Regions from separate parts of the Homo sapiens genome. Here regions 1, 3 and 4 are each linked to region 2. Evidence: promoter capture Hi-C in 16 types of primary human blood cells and fetal thymus (Javierre and others, 2016). All regions are on one chromosome and are shown on one strand. The core of a region is centred on a gene start or on the middle of the fragment in contact, and the rest is flanking DNA. Distances in the headings are between cores, read along the strand shown.

Evidence for each region. The method cuts DNA at HindIII sites, captures the fragments that hold promoters and counts their contacts. A CHiCAGO score of 5 or more calls a contact.
Region 1: a contact is called between a fragment that was not itself captured here and the fragment with the promoter of EBF1 in region 2, in 1 of 17 cell types (M0 macrophages). The highest score is 6.2, in M0 macrophages.
Region 3: a contact is called between a fragment that was not itself captured here and the fragment with the promoter of EBF1 in region 2, in 1 of 17 cell types (fetal thymus). The highest score is 6.1, in fetal thymus.
Region 4: a fragment that was not itself captured here is called in contact with the fragment with the promoter of EBF1 in region 2 in 1 of 17 cell types (M1 macrophages); the score reaches 5.0 in M1 macrophages.

Annotation. Positions count from the first base shown.
Region 1 is chr5:158,094,138-158,097,205 of GRCh38, forward strand. No RefSeq gene overlaps it. Among named protein-coding and RNA genes, the nearest start is that of CLINT1, 240 kb to the left of the region's middle. The HindIII fragment of the contact is 1,099 bases long and covers 943-2,041 here.
Region 2 is chr5:159,098,571-159,101,384 of GRCh38, forward strand. EBF1 (EBF transcription factor 1) reads right to left here and starts at 1,346. Exons shown (of 16, transcript NM_024007.5): 1 at 775-1,346. The coding sequence starts at 908. It overlaps LINC02202 (long intergenic non-protein coding RNA 2202), which reads left to right and starts at 1,913. Exons shown (of 3, transcript NR_109890.1): 1 at 1,913-2,268. RefSeq lists a silencer at 519-808 and enhancers at 1,626-2,254, 2,255-2,814. The HindIII fragment of the contact is 12,266 bases long and covers 1-2,814 here.
Region 3 is chr5:157,951,699-157,954,670 of GRCh38, forward strand. No RefSeq gene overlaps it. Among named protein-coding and RNA genes, the nearest start is that of CLINT1, 94 kb to the left of the region's middle. The HindIII fragment of the contact is 792 bases long and covers 919-1,710 here.
Region 4 is chr5:158,038,189-158,041,232 of GRCh38, forward strand. No RefSeq gene overlaps it. Among named protein-coding and RNA genes, the nearest start is that of CLINT1, 180 kb to the left of the region's middle. The HindIII fragment of the contact is 992 bases long and covers 767-1,758 here.

The sequences.
Region 1 (3,068 bases), core at 242-2,741, 1.0 Mb before region 2:
CTTCTTTATTGGGATACCTCATAGATATCTCAAGCTCAACTTGAATTCCAGATCTTCCTTTCTACTGCACTCCGAACCTGCTTAACCCACAGCCTTTCCCTTCTCAACTGATAGCATCCTCATCCTTCCACGTCTGTAAGCCCAAATCTTGGAGACATGCTTAAATTCTTTTTCTCTCACATTTGCAACCAATCTGTCAGGAAATACTGTGGACTTGGCCTTCAAAATGTATCCAGTATGCAATTATGTCTCCCCACCTCCATTGCTACCACTCTAGCCACTATCATCTCTAGCTTGGCTTACTGTCAAAGCCTCCTAACAAGTCTCTCTGTAGCCACCCACCTTAGGGTCTTTGCAGCCTGCTTTTATCTGCCTGGAATGCCTGCTGCTCAGATATCTGCCTGGCGATCTCCTTTATTTCCTTTAAACCTTTGCTAAATGTCACCTTCTCCATGAGGCCCACCTGTCCACCTTGGTTTAAAACAATAACCCTCTCCCCTCCCCTAGGCTGGCTGTGGCACTCCCTATCCCCTTTACTTCCTGTTTTCTTTTCCTTAGCACTTAGCACCTTCTTACACATTGCATACTAATTCATTTATCATGCTTGTTGCTCATAATGGGATAGTGTGTGGGATATATATGCTGTCCCTGCGATCAGCCTGACTCACGGAGGGGATGCCTTGCTCAAACGGACAATGGATGACGGGCTTGGGCTTGTGTTCCTCTTATCTTCTAGTCTATGGTCCCAGGATTTGGGAGGCTCCAGATCCCCTGGATACCCCGAGAATGGGTCAGGATAGTAAGTCTGGGAATCCATGTTCTGATTCATTCGTCTCCTGATTCATTGGGTAGCCTTAGATGACTTCCTTGACTTCTCAGGATTTATTTTCCCAGTGTAAGAATTCCTTTGTTAGGTAAATCTCTCTCAATCTTGAGAACATAAGCTTCCCTTCTGTTCTCATGTTGATAAGCAAATTCAAGAAAATATGACATTTCAATAAATATAGCATAGCAGAGACAAGCATAGACTCTATTATCAGGATGCTTGGGTTCTAATCCTGGAACTACCACTTAGGTCATTAGCTTCATCCTTTCTCCATCAGTTTTCCTATCTGTAAAATAAGCACAATAACAATACCTATTGCCAGGAGATAGACTGCCTTATTTTGGTGTGTATGGGTTGGGAGTGGAAGGATATAGGTGGAGACATTGAGGGAAGACCTCAACAAAGATTCCTTTCTTTTCTCGAAGGATCTGTGTCACTGGGAAAGTAGGGACAGCTACTCTTATCCATTGATAAAATGAGTTAGTTTGGGATTGACTAATTGGTGGACCCTGCTCAGTAAATGCTAGCTGAATGAGTAAATGAATGAATGTATCTGAAAAACAATACTGTACCTGTATCCTAGGACCCTGTGAAGTTGAATTAAATATCTAGGTAGGAGAGAAATTTGAATTTATATAGCCCCTTTTCTCTAAGTATATCAAAGCACATACAGTCAATTCCTGGTTTATGTATGTGTGGTTAGCTATGGTAGATTTTTAATGCCCTGCTGTCTTTGCAATGCATGTCAATTTGGTTTTGGGCTCCCTCTCTTTGTTCTCAGGTTGGGGGTATCGGTAAAGACACAGTAAGGCAATGCAAACTCATTTTAGTAGCAGCTTAAAAATAACAATGAAGATAAAACTGGGGGTTTGAAAATATATACTGAGTTTTCCAAAGCAGAATGAAAATGAGTTTTATATTATCTACTCATTTGTATTGTTTACATACCACTTCCTTTCCCACAGTGTGAATAATTACTGTGGGGGAGTGGAAAGAAGATGGGATTTAGAATTGGATACATCTGGGTTTGAGCCTATGCTCCCCCATTTTATAGCTGTGTTCCATTAAGCAAATCCATTAGCATCACTGCACCTCCGTTTCCTTATCTGCAAGTATAGTTATAATCATGATGTGGATGATGCTGATGACTGTAATAGTAGTTATAATAACACCACCACCACCAGAGGAGGCATAGTTTGTAGGTGTTAAGAGTGAAGCTTCTGGGGTCAGATTTAGCTGGGTTCATCATAGCTCTGATGTGTTAGAGCTTAGACTTTTAACCTATTCAAGCCTCAGTTTCCTTATCCATAAAATAAACATCATCCTAATGACATGGAGCAATGTCATAAAACATGATTGAGTTACTGTAGGTAAAAAATTTAGCACACTGCCTGTGTATGCCATGGGGCAGAGTATATGGTCCATACATATTAGTATTTAAAAATCATACTCAGTTGAACTACTTACTTTATAGAGTTCTTGTAAGGACCAATGAAGGTGCTGAGTAAAATTAGGTAGTTTTATTGATATAATCCAGACATGACAACTTTGGATGTGTTGTAAGCATTATTCATCTAATAAATAATGTGCTTATAGATACTCATAAACTTGCATTTTATGGCATCTCTCTGTAATTTTCCCACATGAGTCCGAGTGGTGGTAAATAGCTGGTGGCTGTGTTTTTGGTCAGAGCTACAGCAATTTCAGAACCACATCCTTTGGTTTCCAGCAGGCAAAGAGTTAAAATTACATTTTATTGCCTTGTATGACCCAGGGCTGGAAAGGGCTGGTTGTAAATGAATCCAAATTATATTTCCAGGAAGAGAATGTATAGGAAAAATATTAATGACAAAAGGGAACTTGGAGCCACAAACATTTTATAGCATCATGGGCTTAAGGGTCAGATTGCTTGATGCTTTTCCATCATGCCTGGGTTTATTTTAAAGATTTAAAAATATATAGCTCTTTATCATTTTTGTTAAGTTATTCTTAAGAACTTTACATTTTTCATTTCTATTATAAATGGATCTTTCTTCAACATGACATCTTCTAACTGATTTTTGCTGACATATAGAAAAACTATTAATTTTGGTTTGTTTATCTTGTATCTTGATCCATGTTGAACTTCTTTATTAATTCAAATAGTTTTTTCAGTTGATTTCCTTGAATATTCCAGGAAGATAATATGACTATGATTAATAATAACTTTGTCTTTTCCTTTCCGATAATTATTCAACATTTC
Region 2 (2,814 bases), core at 96-2,595:
GGGAAGCTGAAGAAAGAAGAGAAAGAAAATGGAGAGAGGAAGGGAGGAAGGAAAAGAGTGAGGGAGAAATTAAGGGAAGGTGGGGGAAAGAAATGAGAGAAGGAAATGAAAGAAAGAAGAAAGAAAAGAAGGCAGGAAGAGAGACAGGAAAGAACGAAGAACGAAAGAAATGGAAGGAGGGAAGAGGGGAAGAAAGGAAGAGGAAGGAGAAGAGAAGAAAATAAAGGGGGGAGAAAGGAAAGAAGGAAGAAAGAAAAAAGAAAGGCAGGAAGAGGAAAGAGAAAGAAAAAGGAAAAAGAAAAGGAGGAAAGAAAAAAAGAAAGAAAAAGAAAAAAGAAAGAAAAAGGAAGGAAGGAAGAGAAAGAAAGAAAGAAAAAAGAAAAGAGGGAAAGGAAGAGCGAAGGGAAAGAAGAAAAGAGAGCCGGCCGGAAAAGAAAGAGCAATCACATAAAAACATAAAACACAGATCTCCAACATGCTGTGTTGAGACGCCTCTTCTGGGTTAAAACAAAATGAAAACAGTCACAGACGAGGCAGGGGAAAGTGCTGGCAAAGCGTGGGCTCCTCGCAGACAGCTCCAGGTCCTCCGGCCGCAGGCGACGAAGGCAGAGCGGCTGGAGAGCGCGGAGCCCCGGCGGAGAGCGGAGCGCAGCGGCTGCGGACTCACCCCGCCGCCCGGCCCCGCGGCAGCAGCTGCCGCTGCCGCTGCCGCCTCCGCCTCCCGGCTCTCCCGCTCGCGGCTCACCTCGGCCGCGGTCCCCGCGCAGTACCCACCTCTGCGCCGCCGTGTTGGCGTCCAGCACCCCGGCGCCCTGCATCCACGTCCGCACCGCGTTCATGCCGCTGCCCAGCGGCTCTTCCTTCATGCTGCTTCCACTCCGTTGGATGCTTTCCTGAATCCCAAACATGAAAACAACCTTTTCTTGTGGAAAATCTCCTCCCCCTTGAAAAAAATTAAAAAAAAAAAAAAAGGAAAGAAAAGAAAGAAAAGAAAAGAAACAAAAACGCCAACCAGAGATTTTTTTTTTTCTCAGACGATGAACTCGCACTTAGAAGATCAAGGCGGGCTGGAAAGCAAATTTTTAAAAAATGTAAACCTCTGCTCAAAACTGAGCGATAACCCGAAAAAAAGAAGAAAGGGAAAATCCAACGAAAAGACCAAAATAATAAAATTAGAGATGTATGCTTGGCTGTTGGGGGTTGTTTGGTTGGTTGATTTTTGGTTTGGGTGCTTTTTTTTTTTTTTTGCTTTTTTTTTTTTTTTTTTGTAATGATCACAGGCCGGTGGAGGACAGGAGGGGCTGGAGTTTCCTTTTGTAGAGGTACCCTTCACTTGAAGAAGCAGGAAGAAAAAAAAAAAAAAAAAAAAAAAAAAAAAAAAAAAACCCTGATGGCAATTTAAGAAACAATAGACTCAACTCGCGCTGCCGGCTTTGCTACTTCAAGTGTCATTTTCCACAACCAGGCAAGTTTTTTCCTCTCTCTCTCTTTTTTTTTCCTCCTTCTCTCCCAACCAAAGATGTTTCTTTCCTTTGCGTGTAGATGAGGAGGACGCTGGTTGCCGTAGACAGATACACCAGAGAGGGTGGGGGGAAGGGGAGAGAGGGAGAGAGGAAAGGGGGGGAGGGAAAGAGAGATAGAGAGGAGAGGGAGAAAGAGAGAGGGGTGGACCCTGCTGGATGGAGATTCTGTTTTCTCCTTGCTAAAATAGAAGTGATTTGCAGGCTTTCCCTATGGAATCCAGTTTGACTTTCCCCAGAGCTAAACACAGGCACACTAACCCCAAAGGGAGGAGGCGGGGCCCGCGCATCGAGGCCCCGCCCCTTCATTTGCATAACGTCATCTTTCCGCCCACCGCAGCCAATCGCGGCCCGGGAGCCGGCTCGCTGGCGGCGCCAGGCCACGCTCTCTCATTAACATCCCGCTCCCGGTGGCGCAGGGGAGCCGGCCAAAGTTCCTCGCAAAGTGGCGAGCGAAGGAGCGCTGAGCACTGACGTCTGGGCTGGGGAGGAGCGGGTCCGAGCGAGGACGGAGAGGGGACAGAGGGAAAGGGAGGCGGGTGTCTTCCTCAGGAATTTGAGCTGGGGATCTGCATCCTGGCCATTGCAGTCCTTTAGCATCCTCGCCGCGCCCTGAGCGCGCTGGAGGCTCGCAGGCTGCGCCCTCCCAGGGCTGATGCCGCGTCCTGCTCCGCCGTTCTGGGACGTCGGGGACAAAAGTGGAGGAGACGGGAGAGCCCGGGCAGAAAAAGCAGGACGCGCGTCCCAGGTGCCCACCTCTTCGCTTTGAGGCGGGGGCGGTGGGATGGAATATGGGTGCGCGAGGTCGGGGCTGGTAACTCTCGGAGGGGCACGGCCTCCACGCTGGGAGGGATGAATGGACGCTGGGCCCCGGCAAATGAGGCGCTGTGGGTCCCCAGGAAGTGGGGTACCAGGCTCTACTCCCACCCCGGCCTCTGAAACGCTTCTCTCTCGGCCGCTAGCCTAGAGGCTGCCAGGGTTGGGCACTGTTCTCACTCACACGCTCACCTCTCTCGGGCAGTCCTCGAGATATGTGAATGGTGGAATGAATGCTCTCACTGGGGCTGTGTCAGGATGCGTTTTTAAATTTTCTCAAATTAAATGCCAACCCCTCATTCCCCACCCCAAGTAGTTGGTTCGTTTGTTTTTAGAGTAACTACCAAAGCAACAGCAATGTTAACCGTCCTTGATTAGCTGGTTATTTGGTGTAGGGTTTTTCTCATCCTCCTTTATTCTTCCTGTTAAAAAGGAGGGCTTGAACAAATCCTTCCTAACTCTGTCTCTGCCATATGAA
Region 3 (2,972 bases), core at 65-2,564, 1.1 Mb before region 2:
CCTCTCTTTCTCCATCTTATTTTTTGATGTATTTCAGAGTAGGTTGTAGACATCATGTAGTTTTCCCTAAATACTTCATCATGCACGTTGTTAAAATTCAATATTGGTTTACTTTCTTTCTTTTGAGGTAAGATTTACTTATGATGAAACACACAAATTTTATGGGCCATTTCATGGGTTCTGACAAATGCATTCACCTGTGCAATCCAAGCTCCTTTTCTTCACTTCCCCTTCCCTTTCCCTCCCCTCCCCTCCTCTCCTCTCCCCTCCCCTCCCCTCCCCTCCCTTCTCTTCTCCTCTCCTCTCCTCTCAGCGTGGGGCTAACCCATAGGCAGTGTGCCAAGAGTAGCTATGTCCTAATTGTTTTCAGCATAGATTAGTTTTTCCTATTATAGAACTTCATGTAAACTTCAGTGTGTAGTTTTTCTGTAAGGCTTCTTTTACTCAACGTAATGTTTCTGAGATTTGCCCATGCTGTTGTGTGTACAAATTATTTGGTCCTTTCTATTGCCGAAGGTGGTAAGAATGTACCACTGTTTGTATTCCCTTTCTCCTATTGATGGACACCTGAGCTATTTCCAGTTTTTGGCTTTATAACAAAGCTGTTAATTATCAATAGTCTTATACATGTCTTTTTGTGGATGTATGTTTTTATTTCTCTTGGATAAATATCTAGCAGTGGCATTTCTGGAATTTCTAGCATAGGGGTATGTTAAGTTTTGTGAGAGACTGCCAAACCTTTTCCGAAGTGGTTGTACCCTTTTATACTGTCACCAATGAGGTAAGCAAATTCCAGTTGCTCCACATCCACACTAATCCCTGATGGTGTCAGTCTTTTTAAAAAAAATGTAGCTTTCTCATGGGTATGTAGTGGCACCTCATTGTGAATCATGTATTATTTTTATAATCAGAACAAAAAGCTTTATAAAAAATAAAACAAATGATGCCAAGGAAAAGAAAGACAGGACTGGAAGTAAATGAAATAGGATTAATGGTTCACTTCTCTTGAATTTCTTTTTTGTTCTACTTTGCTTGTTTCCAAATTGTCCAAACTAAACTTGTATGTCTTTTATGTAGAAGAAAACATATTTGTTTATTTAAAAACGTACCCACAATAGTTAATACATTATTCCGATATAATTCAGTGACATTTTAGTGGCTGGTGACTTTAATGTGACAACTTAAAAAGTGGTGGGTTTTGGGCTGGGTGTGGTGGCTTATGCCTGTAATCCCAGCACTTTGGGAGGCCGAGACGGGCAGATCACCTGAGGTCGGGAGTTCGAGACCAGCCTGACCAACATGGAGAAACCCCATCTCTACGAAAAATACAAAATTAGCTGGGTGTGGTGGCACATACCTGTAATCCCAGCTACTTGGGAGTCTGAGGCAGGAGAATTGCTTGAACCTGGGAAGCGGAGGTTGCGGTGAGCCAAGATTGCACCATTGCACTCCAACCTGGGCAATAAGAGTGAAACTCCATCTCAAAAAAAAAAAAAAAAAAAAAAAAAAAGTAGTGGGTTTTGAGCCTGGGCTGTATTTAGGCCTTACTGGTAAATAGTCTATGAGATTGAGCGAACCACTTTCTTTGGGCTTTGGTTTCTTCCTTTTTTTGTATAAATGGATTGGAATAGATACCAAGTCCTTTGTCAGTTATAATGAAAACGTATGCAAAACAGTAAGCTCTTGAGAAAAAAAGAAATAGGGCAACTAAGCTTTGGTTGGGAACAAAGGCTCACTGCCTAGGGGTTTCAAGCTGAGTAAAAGAGTCATTTGCTGTGGAGCCCATGGATGAGGTCTAGGGCCACAGGAGACTGTGGGGTGTAGTGCGGAGAATGTGAGCTTCAGTCAGATGGTCCTGGGTTCAAATCCAGACAAAACCTTCTTCTCGCTCTTCGATCTTGGACAAGCGGTTTAATCTCTTTGAGTCTCAGTTTCTGCATCTGCTAATTGAAGATAACAGCACCCTTATGTATGCTCTTGACTTGTGTGTGTGTGTGTGTATTTGAAATCAGAAAATGTTTACAGGTATTATCATTTATAGAAGTCCTCCAGACAGTATTTTCTCCAGGAATGTAGTAAGCAAGTGAGAGAGGGACTTGAAGTAGTGGGGAATAAAAAGGGACCAGAGGGAAATTTAGAAATACGAATTATGGGCCGGGCACAGTGGCTCACGCCTGTAATCCCAGCACTTTGGGAGGCCGAGACGGGTGGATCACCAGCTGCGTGTGGTCGTAGGCGCCTGTAATCCCAGCTACTCGGGAGGTTGAGGTAGGAGAATCACTTGAACCTGGTAGGTGGAGGTTGCAGTGAGCCGAGATCGTGCCACTGCACTCCAGCCTGGGAGACAGAGCGAGACTGCATCATATATATATACATATACATACATACATATATATGTATGTATGTATATGAATTGTGAGAGCTTAAAGCAACCCTAGAGATTATCTAGTGAAAACCCTCATTTTGCAGAGGAAAATAATATAAGGTTTAGGATTGATTACCCATGGAGATGGTGGTAGGGCTGATGTGGGGACCAAGGTTTTAAATTTTCCAATCATACTATAAGGCTTCAGTTAATTCACACTTTGACCCTGGCCTGGTGTCAATCAGAGGAAGTGAAATTTTTCCTTGCACATCCCACTAGGACCACTTGGCTTGGGGATTTTTAAATGCTGTAATCAGCAAGTGAACAGACACAAGCTGTCTAGGAGACTTGTCAGTGGGAGATTTAATACTTCTCTTCAATTCTTCAAATTTTGCCAGCTAAAACAATAGGTATAAAAACCATATTGTTGGCTGGGCGTGGTGGCTCACGCCTGTAATCCCAGCACTTTGGGAGACCGAGACAGGTGGAATCACCTGAGGTCAGGAGTTCGAGACCAGCTTGGCCAACATGGTGAAACCCCATCTCTACTAAAAATACAAAAATTAGCCAGCCATGGTGGCGGGCACCTGTAGTCCCAGCTACTCGG
Region 4 (3,044 bases), core at 13-2,512, 1.1 Mb before region 2:
TTTACTTCTGTGCAGAGGGGTGCTTCTCCTTGGCCAGTCACCATGAGAGCACACCAGAACAAAGGGTCTCTGTGTCCGCACTCAAATCTCATCTTGAATTGTAATCCCCATGTGTCTAGGGAGGGACCTGGTGGGAGATGATTGGATCATTGGGGTGGTTTCTCCCATGCTGTTCTCCTGATAGTGAGTGAATTCTCATGAGACCTGATGGTTTAAAAGTGGTACTTCCCCATTCACTCCCTCTCTCTCCTGCCACTTTGTCAAGAAGGTTCTTGCTTTTCCTTTGCCTTCCACCATGACTATAAGTTTCCTGAGGCCTCCCCAGCCATGCAGAACCTAGTCAATTAAACCTCTTGTTTATAAATTGCCTAGTCTCAGGTAGTATCTTCATATCGGTTTGAAAATGGACTAATACAGTGTCCCTCCAAAAAAATTAAAAAATTAGCCAGGTGGTGGTGGTGTGGGCTTACGATCTCAGCTGCTTGGGAGGATTGAGCCAGGAGTTTGAGGTTGCTGACAGCCATGATTACACTACTTTACTGCACTCCAGCCTGGGTGACAGTGAGATGCTATCTTGGAAAAAAAAAATTGAACTTTTCAATTGTTTCCCCACTATTTACTATCATATTTCAAATGTATTTTTAGTCCATTATTCCTATTCTTTGGTGTTTGTTGAAGTGAAAAATTAGAATAATAGGACTCAATTGAAATATCCAAAATATCAAGTTATGATAAACACACAGGTTTCTAATGTAAGTATTATATAAGCTTATATTTGTAGAATAATTATAGTGTACAGAAAAATTATTTGGACAATTATACACCAAGGTCTGAATAGTGTTTGCCTTGGGTGGGTGGAATTATTTTGCTTATTTATATATTTTTTAATCAATTTGACAAAATTTTAATAAGCTCTTATTAAATGTCAGCCATATTCTTTATGTTGAGGGTATAACAATGAAGAAAAAAGAAAAATTTGCCCTGATTGAAGGTACATACTTGTAGGAGTAGGAAGCAGACAAAAGAATTAAGTAAGATATATCACAGGCCAAACAGTGACAAGCACTATGGAGATAAATGAAGCAGGGAAGGGGGCTACAGCATGTTGGGGAGGGGTTCCAATTTTAAATAGGGTCACCAGGGAGGTCTGACTGTCGAGGTTACTTTTGAGTGAAGATCTAAAGGAAATGAGAGCCTGAGCCAGGTGGATATCTGGGGGGAAAAGCGAGCCAGCAGAAAGAGTATCAAGTACAAAAGGCTTGCTAGAGGAGCATGCCTGGTTTTGTGTGTGTGTGTGTGTGTGTGTGTGTTTGTGTGTGTGTGTAGTGAGACAAGGAGGTCAGAGGACTGGTGCAGAATCAGCCATGAGGAAGAGTAGGAGAAGGTGAGTTAGAGAGGTAGCGAGAGAGCCAAGTCATGTGTAGTCTTATAGGCCATTGTGAAGACTTAGACTTTCACTCAGCCAGCTAGAAAGCCACTGGGGGTGCTGAGCAGAGAAGTGACATAATCTATGTTATGTTTTATGTGTATCACTTTGACTGCCCCTTTGGGAATAACCTGTAGCAGGGACAATGGTGGAAGCAGGAGACTATGGGTGAGAGGTGATGGGGGCTTGGATCAAGGTGATAGCAGTGGAAGTGGGGAACAGTGGTTAGTGGTTACAGTATTGATACATTTTGAAGTTATAGTCTACAGGACTTGCTTACATATACAGAACATGGACTTATGAGATAAATAGAGTAGTCAGAAAGGAATCCAAGCTTCTCGGCCTAAACAAATAGAAGCTTAGAACTAAGTTAATAGAAATGGAGAAGTCTATAGTGAGATAAAGATCAGGAGGCAAGATCAGGAGCTCAGTTTTGAACATAAGTTTGATACATTTATTAGTCATCTAAGATGTTTCTGTAATGAGAATGCATTGTTTTTGAAATTGGGGAAAAACAATAAAAACTTTCAAAAGGCATTCTATTGTGGGACTGGGTTGTTTCAACGAGTCCTCTATTGTTGGCCTGAATTATTCAGTTTCTGTGGCAAAATTGTTTTCAGTCAAACCATCTGGAACTGGTGTATGCAGGGGGCCACTCTGGGTAACCACAAAGCACACTTGCTCCTGGGACTGCCCTGCTTAAAAGAAAGTCAAAAGCAGTCTCAGCACTGCTTTGCTATCTTGGCTGTCAGGGCCATTGATTCAACTGATTTCCTAGATGCTTGTTTTAACTCCCTAATCCCATGAGTCTTGCCTTGCTCTGTCACCAGGCTGGAGTGCAGTGGTGCGATCTCGGCTCACTGCAACCTCCGCCTGCTGTGTTCAAGTGATTCTCCTACCTCAGCCTCCTGAGTAGCTGGGACTACAGGTGTGCACTACCATGCCCAGCTAATTTTTGTAATTTTAGTAGAGACGGGGTTTCACCATGTTGACCAGATGGTCTCAATCCCCTGACCTTGTGATCCGCCCATCTTGGCCTCCCAAAGTGCTGGGATTATAGGCGTGAGCCACTGTACCCGGTCGCTTACCTGAAGCTTTTAGGATCCAGTGTCCCTGGACCCTTAGTTCTTACTATCCCCTGATAGTAAACACCTATCCTATTACCACCATGCTGCCATTAGTTAATTCACAATACATTTCTTGAATACCTGTTTTGTGCAAAGCACTGGACAAAGCATTTTTGGGACAACAAAGAAGCTGAGATATGATATTGAAACTCTAGGAGGTTGCAGTGCTGTCGGGGAATGTAAGGCTATATAACAGGAGTGTGATGGACAAGTATTTGATATCATGGAAGGGAATCCAAGGCTCTGATTTTTATTTTTATTTATTTATTTTTTGAGACAGAGTCCTGCTCTGTCATCCAGGCTGGAGTGCAGTGGCACAACCTCGGCCCACTGCAACCTTTGCCTCCCAGGTTCAAGTGATTCTTGTGCCTCAGCCTCCCGAGTAGCTGGGATTATAGGCGCCCACCACCATGCCTGGCTAATTTTTTTTTTTTGTATTTTTTTTTAGTTGAGATGGGGTTTGCCATGTTGGCCAGGCTGGTCTCGAACTC